Linked DNA regions of Homo sapiens: regions 2 and 3 are each linked to region 1. Evidence: promoter capture Hi-C in 16 types of primary human blood cells and fetal thymus (Javierre and others, 2016). All regions are on one chromosome and are shown on one strand. Each heading gives the region's core, a stretch centred on a gene start or on the middle of the fragment in contact. The rest is flanking DNA. Distances are from core to core; before and after follow the strand shown. Region 1 holds the start of SYT6 (synaptotagmin 6). Region 2 overlaps OLFML3 (olfactomedin like 3). Region 3 has its middle 20 kb from the start of OLFML3.

What was found. The method cuts DNA at HindIII sites, captures the fragments that hold promoters and counts their contacts. A CHiCAGO score of 5 or more calls a contact.
Region 2: a contact is called between a fragment that was not itself captured here and the fragment with the promoter of SYT6 in region 1, in 4 of 17 cell types (M1 macrophages, M0 macrophages, M2 macrophages and 1 more). The highest score is 11.9, in M1 macrophages.
Region 3: a contact is called between a fragment that was not itself captured here and the fragment with the promoter of SYT6 in region 1, in 2 of 17 cell types (M2 macrophages and M0 macrophages). The highest score is 5.9, in M2 macrophages.

What each region holds. Positions count from the first base shown.
Region 1 is chr1:114,152,619-114,157,100 of GRCh38, forward strand. SYT6 (synaptotagmin 6) reads right to left here and starts at 1,251. Exons shown (of 8, transcript NM_001253772.2): 1 at 992-1,251. The coding sequence starts at 1,154. RefSeq lists an enhancer at 2,426-3,039 and a silencer at 3,969-4,263. The HindIII fragment of the contact is 4,368 bases long and covers 1-2,297 here.
Region 2 is chr1:113,981,045-113,985,526 of GRCh38, forward strand. OLFML3 (olfactomedin like 3) reads left to right here. Exons shown (of 3, transcript NM_020190.5): 3 at 1-1,209. The coding sequence ends at 725. Among named protein-coding and RNA genes, the nearest start is that of OLFML3, 3.8 kb to the left of the region's middle. RefSeq lists enhancers at 175-1,007, 2,263-3,226. The HindIII fragment of the contact is 4,315 bases long and covers 95-4,409 here.
Region 3 is chr1:113,997,441-114,001,922 of GRCh38, forward strand. It overlaps the pseudogene RPL13AP10. Among named protein-coding and RNA genes, the nearest start is that of OLFML3, 20 kb to the left of the region's middle. The HindIII fragment of the contact is 8,622 bases long and covers 1-4,482 here.

The DNA.
Region 1 (4,482 bases), core at 1-2,500:
ATACCCTGGGCCGGCCGCCACGTCGCCGACCCTCCCGCAGCTCCCGCCGCCAGGGCGCGACACGCCATTCCCCCTGCCGCGACTCCCCGGAGACGCCGCAGCTGCGCGCCAGGGTCCAGCCCGGCGGGGATCGGGCTCGGGACTCACCCGCTCCGGCGAGCTCGACTCAGCTCGGGCTCCCGCCTCGGCTAGGCAGCCGCCTGGGGCTGCGTCCCGCGCAGGGTCAGCGCGGATCGGGCAGGAGGCGCCCTCTTGGCAAAGTCGGCTAGAGGCGCCAGCTCAGTCGCGCACCGGCCCCGAGTCCGAGTCCGAGAGGGACGGAGGGAGCGAGTTATAGGGGCGAGAGGGGGTGGGGGAAGGACGCCGCAACACCCTCATACCCTCCCCCACCCCGCCCCCTGTCCCCCGCCCCCCAGCGGAGACGCGGAAAACCACTCGCAGCCGGAGAGACACCCGGACACAAAGACCTCGTGCCAGCCGCAGACCCAAGTTTCTCCCGGAGAGACTGGGGGTCCGCCCGCGTTCACCGCGAGAACACACAAACGGACGGACAGACCGACGCACGGACCCGGGGACCTCGACACTCGCTAGGAGGCAAGCCCTATTCCTCAGCCGGGCGCCCCTCGTCTCCCGCTCTCTCCATGGACCCCTCTCCTGGCAAATCGCCCGCAGAGCGAGCTTGGAGATGCGAGGGAAACTGAAGCCCCAAGGGTGCCCCGTCCTGGGAGCCTGGCTGTCTGCGGGGTCCCCCGCATTCCGCAGTAGTAATACAGGAGGGCCGGGGGCTTCTACCCCAACCTCCGCTCCCCTTCGGGTCTCTCCTGGCTGTGCAAGCGATGGGCCAGAGGGCTGGACGAGGCTGGCTCCCAATCCAGAATCCCGAGCTGGGGAGTTCTCTCTAGGTTCTGGGGCTCCTGGGACCGGGGCTTTGGGGAAGGGAGATCGCAGGACGGATATCCAGGAAGGGAGGGGGCCCTGGGTCTCCCGTTACCTGCGCCTGCCGCGCTGGGACTCCGCTCTGGGGGCTGCAGCTCGAAGCTCCGACAAGTCTCCACGTCCAGCCCGAGAGGGGGCGGCCGGGCCCGGCACAGCGAGGCGAGGACCGCGAGCGCCTCCTGGCACCGAGGCCCGCCGGCCCCCCACACTCCGCTCATGCCCTAGACACCCAGGCTTGCCGAGCAGCAGCTCGAACCCGCGCCCCGGCCGCACTGGGGCGGGGCACGACGGCCCCAAGAAGACCCTCCCTGCAGCGGCCCCCTGCGGCTCCGCTCTGCTTTTAATCACTTCCCCGCAGGGTCCCCGCCCCTCACGTGGCATCCCGCGGCAGCTGGCGAGTCTGGCGCCTCGCGGCCGCCCCCTCTACACTCAGGGACTGGCCTGAGTCCGGGGGGTGGGGGTTTCGAGGCGGGAAGCCGGGCTGTCCCGAATCTCGGAGGGTGCAAGGCCAGGAAAGAGTCCGGGTTCCCACTCCGCATTCACTGCCTGGTGTGACCTTGGGCGTCTCTGAGCCTCAATTTTCCTCTCCGTAAAGGAGGTGTAATGATTTTAAGTACTTCACGGACTCCCTGGGGATAGAAAGATCGTGTTTGTGAAAACACTGGGTAAACTGCCACATGCCACACGAATGACAGAGAAATAGATAACCCCGTAACAGAAAGAGCGACGGTCAGGCAGGGTCTGGGAGGACCTTGGCCGAGGTTCCTGACGGGAGCAGTTAGACTGGCCCCCGAGTCCCAGCTTCGGAGGTAGAAGACCCCAAGACAGGCGGGCGATGCGAACTGCAAGACTTTCCGAGCTCCGCAATCCTGCGGTCCGCGGTACCCGCATGTTGCTATGGCGACGGGAGGCAGCGGCCGTCTCTCTCCATGGCAACGGGAGGGAAAAGTTTCTGGCAAACAGGAATGGGGGGTCATTTCAAGAGGGCGCAGGGCGCTCAGTTCCGCCGACCCACCTCCTTGCTTCGGTGAAACAGCACCAGAGATCATGTATCTTTCTGCTAAGCATAACAAGAAAGACAGAAAGCTCAACGGGAGGATTGAGGCTAGACTTAAAGTAGAGATCCCCTCAGAAACTGTGGAGTGAGGCCCAGGAACAGATCGGCTGAGAGGCTTCGAGCTGCCTCACTCAGCGCTGGAAGTCTGTGAGCCATGGTCAGGGAGGCCGGGGGACCAGCGCCCTGCAGGGGCCTATCTCGGGAGTCTCTTGATCTACACCTGTCGGCGGTGGGGCCCCTTCTGTGTGGGGCTCGCCTGAAGCCCCAGACTCAGGTCCATTTGCTCTCCCGGAGCTGGGAAGGAAGCTTTAGCTGCAGCCCCTGGAGGCTGCTGGGTTGGTGTATGCCCGAGTGGCTGGCGAGGGAGAAAGGTCTTGCCTCTTAATTAACACGCTTATTGGAAGTGACTCGGGCAGTGACTCACGTTCCGGAGGGAGGAGATTCGGAGCCTTAGCTCCTGGCGGTCTCCACTGCGCGCCATCTGTGCCAACCGGCCCTTGGACTTGCGATCCCCTAGCAGCTGGTGCCTGGGGCACCAAGGGCTAAGGCAAGGCCTGTGAGGACCCTGGCCCAGCCAGGCGGCTTTTCCACCGTGAGGCGCCCCCTGGCTCTGTCCACGGTGCTGAAGACCCAGTTGGTGCTACCATCGCGTGGGCATAAGTTTAGGGGACGAGGGAGAGGCAATTGTTGAAGGTTCGCAGCTTCCACCCTGACCCCTGTGCCTGTGATAGCAGAAGGCTAGGAACTCAGGCAGGGACCAAGCAGACACGACGCAGGCGATACTGTGCAATCCGGGCTGCCTTCCTGCTGGAGGTGTTTGGTTGCTGTTCCAAGAACAAGTGGGGCTCTGGCATCCCTATGCGCCTTCCTGGTGCTTCTGAAAACCCACCTGAGGAGCCTAGAGGCCCCATTAATTTCTTTTCCATCACCCGATGCAGATCTCAGCACCCAGAAGAGCCTCTGGCTAAACGCTTATTAGCAGTTTCCCAAGTGGCAGGTTTGTGTTTATGTAAAATACAAATGGAGAACTGCTCTTTGCCCGTGTTTATGGCAACTCTGTCACTCCCCTGCTATTTCTCCCTCCCCCTCGCGAGTTCCTGGGGGAAATTCACAGAACAAAGCACCTTGTTTTGCCTTTGCAGAGAATGAAAAAACACAGGACCATTCCAAGGGCCCAGACCTGTGATGCAGGGAAATCAATATTTTGCTTACATCGAGTGGGGGAATTTGCATCTAAACTGAAGGCAAAGGAGCTTGTTTGGAGCAGAGCAGGTGGCAGGAGCCGAGAATTAACAGATAATTTCTCATTGTTCCTGGATTCAGCCTCCACACTCGGCAGGCGCTTCTGCAGCGTCTCTGGCGCCCCGGCAGCAGCTCCGGACCTGGCATTTCTCAATCTAGCAGTGTGAAGGAGCTGCTGCCCTGATAGGGCTGCAGAAACAGGTTAGGGCCCCTGGGTCAGTCAATAGCTATTGAAGTTGGATTGTAGGAGTTAGCGTGTGTGGGAGAGACAGAGATGAGAGAGACAGAGAGAAAGAAACAGAGACAGAAATAGAGGCAAGAGACAGATACAAATGAGAGAGACAGAGGATGAGACAGAGATACAGAGAGACAGTTATAGGAAATAGAGAACAGAGAAACAGACAGGGAGACAGATGTACAGGTAAAGAAACACACATTCAGAAGGAGACATTAAGGTAAAGCCTCACCCTAGTTGTCCTCTTTAGCCCGCTACCTCCCCCAGCCCCCAGGTCAATTGCTGATACCACTGTGGTCACATAACCAGCCACAAAGCAGAAAAATTCTTCATGTAATGATGGAAACTTTTTTGTCTCTCAAACCCCTTTGCCCTGCAAACCCAACCCCCAAACACACCTTTGCTTCTTCCCATATGAAGAGATAAAATTCAGAGTCCCAGGGTCCCACCAAGAGCTGGGAGGGAGGATCCAGGGTCCCACTCAAACCCAGAGAGGGAAAGAGGTGGAAAGAAGTGGAATTGTTGCCCTTCAATTCTATCTCTCAGAGAAATCCCATTCTGAGTTTGGGTTTAGGGGTGGGGAGGAGAGAAGCAGGAGCAGAGACAGTTAAGCATGGAGTGGTGGCAAATAAGTACATTGGACAGGGCCTGGGAGGGCTGGGATTCAGGGCTGGTGCACCAAAGCAGCCACGAGGCTGTCACATCCCCTATCTGGGGCTCAGTGTGCCTATGTGAAGTTGGATTAGGAGCTCTTTGAGGCTCCTTCCAGCAACAGCACTCTAGGATTTTACATGAGGGAGAAAAGAGGAGGCTGGGGCAAAGGGAGGAGGGAGGCAGCCTTTCCTGGCTCTGAAGCTGAGGGTGGTTTTACAGAGGCCAACTCACTTTCAGCTCCCCCTCCCCCATCGTTCTCATTGCGCCTACAGCCATGCATGGAGCATCCCGAGTCTGGGCACCTCCAGACCAGACTTCTCAGATGCAGGAAGAGGAGCTGGGGTGGAATGGGAGGCAG
Region 2 (4,482 bases), core at 1,002-3,501, 170 kb before region 1:
CAGAGAAGATCTACGTGTTAGATGGGACACAGAATGACACAGCCTTTGTCTTCCCAAGGCTGCGTGACTTCACCCTTGCCATGGCTGCCCGGAAAGCTTCCCGAGTCCGGGTGCCCTTCCCCTGGGTAGGCACAGGGCAGCTGGTATATGGTGGCTTTCTTTATTTTGCTCGGAGGCCTCCTGGAAGACCTGGTGGAGGTGGTGAGATGGAGAACACTTTGCAGCTAATCAAATTCCACCTGGCAAACCGAACAGTGGTGGACAGCTCAGTATTCCCAGCAGAGGGGCTGATCCCCCCCTACGGCTTGACAGCAGACACCTACATCGACCTGGCAGCTGATGAGGAAGGTCTTTGGGCTGTCTATGCCACCCGGGAGGATGACAGGCACTTGTGTCTGGCCAAGTTAGATCCACAGACACTGGACACAGAGCAGCAGTGGGACACACCATGTCCCAGAGAGAATGCTGAGGCTGCCTTTGTCATCTGTGGGACCCTCTATGTCGTCTATAACACCCGTCCTGCCAGTCGGGCCCGCATCCAGTGCTCCTTTGATGCCAGCGGCACCCTGACCCCTGAACGGGCAGCACTCCCTTATTTTCCCCGCAGATATGGTGCCCATGCCAGCCTCCGCTATAACCCCCGAGAACGCCAGCTCTATGCCTGGGATGATGGCTACCAGATTGTCTATAAGCTGGAGATGAGGAAGAAAGAGGAGGAGGTTTGAGGAGCTAGCCTTGTTTTTTGCATCTTTCTCACTCCCATACATTTATATTATATCCCCACTAAATTTCTTGTTCCTCATTCTTCAAATGTGGGCCAGTTGTGGCTCAAATCCTCTATATTTTTAGCCAATGGCAATCAAATTCTTTCAGCTCCTTTGTTTCATACGGAACTCCAGATCCTGAGTAATCCTTTTAGAGCCCGAAGAGTCAAAACCCTCAATGTTCCCTCCTGCTCTCCTGCCCCATGTCAACAAATTTCAGGCTAAGGATGCCCCAGACCCAGGGCTCTAACCTTGTATGCGGGCAGGCCCAGGGAGCAGGCAGCAGTGTTCTTCCCCTCAGAGTGACTTGGGGAGGGAGAAATAGGAGGAGACGTCCAGCTCTGTCCTCTCTTCCTCACTCCTCCCTTCAGTGTCCTGAGGAACAGGACTTTCTCCACATTGTTTTGTATTGCAACATTTTGCATTAAAAGGAAAATCCACTGCTCCTCTCCTGTGTTTGTTTGGGGTAGCCCTCAGATCAAACTTCCCCCTGACCATCCAGTTTCTCCCTCCCAACCCATCCCCACTCCTTGAGCCATATTAAAGACTTGGGCGGGGCTCCCTTTGCTGAGGAAGAGTTTACTGTGAGGCGCCTGGGGGAGGTGGCAGAATCCCGCCACTTTAGGAGGCTGGACGAAAGGCCTCCTTCCACACCCACCGCCATCCACAGCAGCCAATCCACAGCAGCCATCCTAGAACCTCAGTGGCACCGTGCCTCTGGCTGTGAGACACTGGGGCCCAGGGCAGAGATTCCAGTTCCGATTCTCAGAGGATTTTGAACTACAAAATGCATGTTAGTTGCATTGCATTCTAGTGTGGAAACCAGAGCCCTGAATGCCTGTGTTTTTAGTAAGAACTGAAGTCTCCCCTCTAAAGTGGACTCTGCCCCGCACCCCAGACCTCCACTCCCACCTCCAGCGTTGTGCTCCTGCAGGGCCAGGTTGCACAATCATTCTTGGTCTGGACCGCTCTGATTTTCCTGCTGCCACGGCGTCTGCGGTTTGTGCAGGGAGGAGGGGCAGTGACCGTGTCCCAGATGTTGGCCTTACACGGTCTGCAGCCTATTCTTGCTTTCCTTTTCTCCACTCTCATCACCCTCACCTACCCACTCCAGCCCTGAACCTGGCTGAAGCCCGTCAGGACTTCTGGAAACTTAACCCTCTCTGGCCCATACCCTGGCCTCTGGCGTTGGATTGCAGAGCGTAATGTGGGGAAGAGGGAAGGGAGAAGGGAGAGGAGGAGGAAGGCTCCAGGCTTTGGACTCCAGTCTCCAGGAATCTGCTGATTTCTGCACCAGGCCCCCACCCCAGCCTCACCCTCACTGCTGCATGCTCAGCTCGCAGGGGCAAGGCTGGCTGATGGGCAGGATCCACTGCTTTCATGAGGAGTCCACCTCAGGCATGCCTGGGGGTCCTCTTGGTTATTTGCTCTAGCCAAGTGCGGGAAGGGGGCACAGCCTTCTCCCCAAAGCACAGCCCTCCTTCCCGCCCCAGGTGGGGTGGCTCAGTCAGGGCCCTGTGAGCCTCCCTTTATCTTCTTTTCTTTTCTCCTCAGGCAGAGCTGCTCCAGACGTAGGTTGATGAGGATGGGGAAAGAAAGACAGTGAAGCACCTCAGAAAGGCGCTATTATAGGGAGACCGGGGCGGGCAGGGGCTCTCTCCCATTGAATTCTCTCCTAATGTGGGGCTGGCAACAGTAATCACCACCTGTCAGCCCACGGAAGGGTCTGCCCACAGAACAGCTGGCTGCGGCACACGTGGTGCACAGGGAGGGGTTGAGGGGGAAGGGCATTCTGAGCACAGGCCTGGAGAATGGGGTCTGGGCCACACGGCTGGCAGAGCAGTGTGGGGACTGTGGGTGCCCCATGTGGAAGGGGAGCTTGTCTGCTCCCTAGCGTGACTGTGTGTGTGTGTGTGTGTGTGTGTGTTGGGGGTGGGAGGTGCCTGTGTGTGGCAGAGGTGCTTGTCTGCTCCCTAGTGTGACTGCGTATGTGTACGTGTATGTGTATATGTGCCTGCATGTGGCAGGGGAGCTTGTCTGCTAGCTTGTGTGGCTGTATGAGTGTGTGATAGGAGGCTGTAGGGTCAGGCCGTGTCTCTGGAGTTACCTTGTTAGAGCACCAAACACCAGGAGCGGCTCTGATGCCCTTGATGAGAGCATAACCTGAGACTCCGTGTGTATAAGTGACGTCAAGGAATATGTATTTGAAGTACATTCTTAACGCCTTATTACTTCCATGAAAATCAGGTAACCAGGTTCTTCCGCGTTGCATGTGTGTGCTTGTCTTTGTGGCATCTATCTTTGCCTGATTCCTCCTCCATGAGAAAGAAAAAAAGCATATCTTTTTTTGGCTTACAATTTCTGTGGAAAAGTTCATTCAGGCTTTTCTGAAAGGGCAGAAATCTCTGGGGCCTTGTCGTTTATTACTTTTCTCTTCCTTCTTTTTGGCTCCTGTGCAACAGCTAGTGCTATTTTGGAAGCATTATGGAAGGTGAGTAGAACTGTGTGGGCAGATCCAGTGAACTGTCCAAATTCATTAAACTAAATTATCTGCTGCTCCAGGAGACAGCACCGGTAGCTAAATCCTATCATCCACAAGTAGCCTCAGACCCCCATCAGACCCTCCACAACCCATCACTTGGCAGAAATAGGTTATGACCTCTGATTTTGTTGAACAAAAGACAGTGGAAGGCAAAGGGCCTAGTAGAGGAGAGAGGGGTTAAAAGCCCAAAGAGAAGTCCCACATATGCCCCAGTGCCTAGCCATTGGGTGGTACAGTAAACACCCAAGGATGGGGATGTGGGAAGGGCACCAAGAACCAGGAGGGGCTGCTGTGGTGGAGGCAGCTGTCTGCTAGGTCTTAGGTCCAGATGTTGCTTCTCCATCACAAGGCAGTATTGAGAGGGCTCCCCCAAGGCAGTATTGAGAGGGCTCCCCTCTCCGCCACACTGGGCCTCAGGGTTTCCTGCTTTACTTCCTAAGCTCCCCTCCTTGTTCTCAATATCCTCTCTTCTCCAATGCTGGTCTTAGTATCTGCCTGCCAGCGAATCCAAAGTGTTTGTCTTGTTCATTTTAATCAAGGAAGCTGAGCCGGTGTTGTGAGCGCCCTGGATGGTGGAGAGGGACAGGGCAGAGATGGACAGGAAGAAGTTGTTGATTCAGCTGTCAATGTTTCCTCTGGGATGGGCTCTGAGCTAAACAGAAACCAAGCCCTCCTTTTCCTCCTCCTCCAGTCTCAGATTTTCTGGGCCTCTTCTCATCTCTCCTTGAACAGGCACCCCTTCCCCAAGGCTCCTGGGGGCATCCCCTTCCACTGCTCCCCACTCCTCTACCTGGTTTAGAGGAAAGCATGCCCATTTTGAGAGCTGCTGAGACTGTCCTGGTATTTCTCAGGGCCTTCAGGATAGGTCTCTTCAGGGCCTGCCACCCAGCCTCTCTGTGTCTGCCTTTGCAGTTTAGTGTGGTCTGTGGTCCAGGAGAACTTTTCTATTTCTCCGGCTGGAAAGTAGGGTCTGTCCTGTGGCCTTAGCTCCTGTTAGCAGCTGTGGCCTCTGCAGGCCCTGTGGACCCCTCAGCCTGGCTGGTGAGCTTTCCTTTGCCTGGTCTTTAACTTCTGCTTTTACAATGCAGAGCTTAAAAGAGTAAAGCTTTATTTCTGGATTTAATAACTCCACAGAATTATAAATGTGGAAGCCTATGTATTACTTTAAAGGGCAGA
Region 3 (4,482 bases), core at 828-3,327, 150 kb before region 1:
TTGGGAGGTTGAGGCACGAGAATCTTCTGAACCTAGGATGTAGAGGTTGCAGTGAGCTGAGATCGCTCCACTTCACTCCAGCCTGGGCGATAGAGTGAGATTCTGTCCAAAAAACATTAAAAAAAAGAAATAATAATGACCAATGAAGGAATAAATAAAATTGAGACTAAAAAAATTTTTGTTCAGAGTAACAAAAAGTTGGCTTTAGCTGGGCATGGTGGCTCATGCCTGTAATCCCTCTCTACTTGGGAGGCTAAGGTGAGAGGATCACTTGAGGCCAGGAGTTCAAGACCAGCCTGGGCAATACAGTAATATAGTGAAACCCTATTTCGAAAAAAAATGTGATTTTTTTTTAAAAGATAAACAAAACAGACAAACCATTAGCTAGACTAAGAAAAAAAAGAGAAGACCCAAATAAATATAATGAAAAATGAAAAAGGAGATGTTGCAACAGATACCACAGAAATACAAAGGTTCATTAGAGGTTATTATGAATAGCTACACACAAATAAATCAAAAAACCTAGAGGAAGTGGATAAATTCCTGGACACATACAACCTACTCAGATTGAACCAAAAAGAAACAGAAAACTTGAACAGACCAATAACAAGTAACGAGATTAAATCAGTAATTAAAAAACCTCCCAAGAAAGAAAAGTCCAGGACTGGATGGCTGTACCGCTGAATTCTATTGAACCTTTAAAGAAGAATTAATACCAATTCTCAAATTATTCCAAAAATTGAAACAGCCAGAATTCTTCGTAATCATTCTATGAGGCTAGCATAACTCTGATACCAACACCAGACAATAATATAACAAAAAAGAAAACTTATTTTTTTTTAAGGGAAAAGGTAGGAGCTAGGCAGAGACTAAAGATGTAATGGAGAAAGAGGAGAATGAAACGAGCTTGCTTAGGAGGAGGGAGGAAGAGGAGGAAGGAGAAGGGACAAGGCTTCTCAGAGCTCAGAGCAAGGGGACAGATAGCAAGTGGAAACAGAGTTTATGTCAGAACAAATCCCAATCTTGTTGAGAAGGGAATAGTAAATGAACTGCAGAGGGAAAGAGGATGGGAAGTGGTTCAGAGTCTGAAGAGAGAAGAGCAGGATGTGAATTTGGCGTGAAGCCAGTAAGAGATCATTGAAATATGGCAGAGAGGAAGCGAGGAGCCGCTGGAATCTGCAGTGCACCCACAGCCAGTCTTCTCATTGCCAGCATCTCCGTTTTCTCTTCCTTCTGGACAATATTTGTCAACTACTAACAACTAGCAGCTGCTTTTTTTTTTTTTTTGAGGCCTTACTATGTGCACTTGATAGATATCTTCCCAATTCACAATTACTTGTAATTGTATGATAGGTTTGAAGCAGAAAAGAGTTAAGGATGTTGGTTGGTGTAAGTTTTCTATAAGTAGGTACCATGTGGTGTGGCTGCTCAAAATGATGATACTCTTTAGGCTGCGTTAGTAGGAGCACATTAGTGTGAAGGAGAGCAAACAGTCCTGTGTTATTCTGCTCTGGTCAGGCCAAAGAAGCAATGTTCTTTTCTGTCCCAGGTAAGGGTGATAATCATAACTGCTACTATTCATTAGGCACCTACTATGTGCCAGCTCCCGTGAGATGCTTGCATGCATTCTTTTTAATCCCCAAAACAATCCCAAGAGGTAGATAATATGATCTTCATTTTACAAATAAGAAAACTTAGCCTCCAAGAGTTTCAGTTACATGCCAATGTCCTTAGAGAAAGGAGAAAAATAACACCTACTAAAGAAAGACCTAAGGAATAAGAGTGGTATCTTCAAGTAGCAGAAAGGCCATCATAAGGCAAAGGGACAGTACTGGCCCTTTTTGATCTGGCCATAAAAGGTAGAAATAGGCTCAATGGATGTAAATCACACAAAAAGAAGTTCCACTTAACAAAAGGAAGAACAGTCAGCCATATGACAAAATGTTTTGTGTTACCTTTGGTGGTAGTGAGTTCCCTGTTACTGGAGGTGTTCAAGCAAAGGCTGAATGAATGTTGGGCACAGCTGTACAGAGAATGCAAGCATTAGATGAGGAGTAGAACTAGATGCCCTTCTCGATATTTTCCAACATTCAAATTTTGTTTATATTTTTTAGCAATATAAAAAAGAGGTCAGGTCAAAAAGGGAAGAGGTTCAAAGACACCGGAATGGCTGGCCATGTGGCAATCCTCCACAAGCTGCAATTAGAAAACAAGAGGGGTTCTCCTGGCCATCGGGATGCGGAGTAGAAGTGAGGCTCTGCCTCATTCCGCCCACCCCTAACTTGGCTTCCGGTGAAGTCTCCTGGAGAAGTTAGAGGCAGAAGTTTAGTGTGCACGTTTCTGCCTAAGCAATTCTGCAACCATTTTTCACCAACTCAGGCTCAGGCAGGTGGCTGGCTATGGTTTGTATCTGATTTGTTTGCATTTCTGTGGCAGGCAGCTGCTGTGACTGGTTGCAAAGGGAGAGATTTGCTTTGCACCTAATTTAATCCAAGGGTTAGGTAATGAGTTTGCTCCCCCTTAGAAGAGAGGAATCAACATGCTTCTTCCAATCTTATCTGTGCTTGCTTATTAGCAGGAGGGCTGCTCTGTGGACCTTGTTAGATCTCCAACGCATGTGATCACTACTCAGGGGTGATTTACTATACCTCCTGATATTAAAAACCCCTGAGCGAGACAAGAGAAATGAATAATGCTCTGTAGTGAATTTGTTAATGAATTTTCTTTCTGCACCCAAAAAGAAGAAACTGGAAAAAAAGGATGTTGGACCAGAGAAAGACCATAATTCTCTGCAAGTCAGGGTTCTTGATGAGTCTAGAGAGAAAATAATCAGAAATCTTTTTTTTTTTTTAAAATCCCATATTCCGTTCTAGTTAGGGATTGTCATTAATTTCAGGGTAGAAGATAGCTTGGCATCTTTCTGGTATTCTTAAAATAGAATAAATAGGCAGCCAACCTTAAAAAAAATAAGAGGTTTTGATCTAGGGTTTGAGTAATCTGGGCTGGCTTCTGATTTGCATATATATGTAATAAAGTATGTCCCTGTTCCCAAGGTTGATTGCTAGGAAGCTGAATTCATGAAGAATGAAACTCTGCTCAGTGACAGGTGAGGAGGCAGAGGGACTTCCTGTCAACTCCTCCAGGTGTGTACCTGTCTATAAACCCTCACCTGCTGGGTCAGGGTGTCTTGCTTCAAACTTGTGACTAGGGCCAGCTTCCTAGGCATGTGGCCTGTGCAGGTGCACAGAACCCTGCACTTAGAAGGGGTTGAGCTTAGTTTAATGTTCTGCTGTTGCTGTCTTGAAATTCTTAATTTTTGAAAAAGGAACTCCTTATTTCCATTTTGCACAGGGCCTGGGAATTATGTAGCCGGCCCTGACAGTTGATTTTTCATTGTCAATGGCTCTGTCTTGCGTTCATCTGCCCTTTCCCAACTCTGACCTTTTCTCAGGGGCAAAGTGATGTTTGCTCTAAAAGCATACATATCATGTAAAAGTATGTGTCTGTCTTTTAGGAAGACAATTTATTGCTTTTTATACCCTATTTAGAGAAGTAATACAGGTAAATTATAGGAAATCTGAAAAGTACGAAGAAGAAAAAAATTATCCATATACCCACCACACAATGATGTAGCTTTCTAGACTTTTAATACATACTTCTGTTTTGTTCTGGCTTTACATCATTGGAAATATCAGAAATAATGTTTGGGAAAATGCTTTTTAAAGATTACTAACATAGCATGAGAATTTCCCCCATATCATAATTTTTTCTTCAAAAGTTTTTTTGTTGTTAGCTACATAGCATTCCACTACACAAAAATGCCATCATTAACTCAAATGATCCCTTCTTTTTGGGCCATTTATGTTTACTACAAATAACACTGTAAAGATAACACTTATATACGTTAGAAAACCAAAAAAAAAAGATGATTTGTTTAGTTGTTTATTTATTTTATTATTTATTTTTGGGGGAATAAGCAGTGTTTATTGGGCTCAGACCAGGAGTCCATGGGTCTTGAGGACCTCTGCGTATCTGTCAGTTTTCTCCATGTTCTTTGCTGCCTGTTTCTGTGGCCTTAAGAGCTGCTTTTCCTTCCCTGAGTAAATCCTGGCCTTTTCCTTCCTCTCCTCCTGCAGGTGGCTGTCACTGCCTGCTACTTCTAGCCAGCTTCGTGAGTCAGGCACCCCAGGCAGGCAAACTTTCTTGTAGGCTTCAGACATACCACCTGGAGGGCCGCAGAAACAACCTTCAGCTGTTTCTTGTCGCAGGGCCGTGGGATCCCAGCACACACCTTGAGGCGGTCCTGGGAGGCTTGGCCTCGCGCGGTCCAAACCAGGTATATGGGGGCCCAGGAAGGGTGGGGGTCCGGGAAGGGTTGGTGTTCATCCACCTGTGGAGGAAGGCCAGGTACTTCACCTGGTTTCTGTAGAAATTGCCAGAAATGGGCCAACATAGTGAAACCCTGTCTCTACTAAAAATACA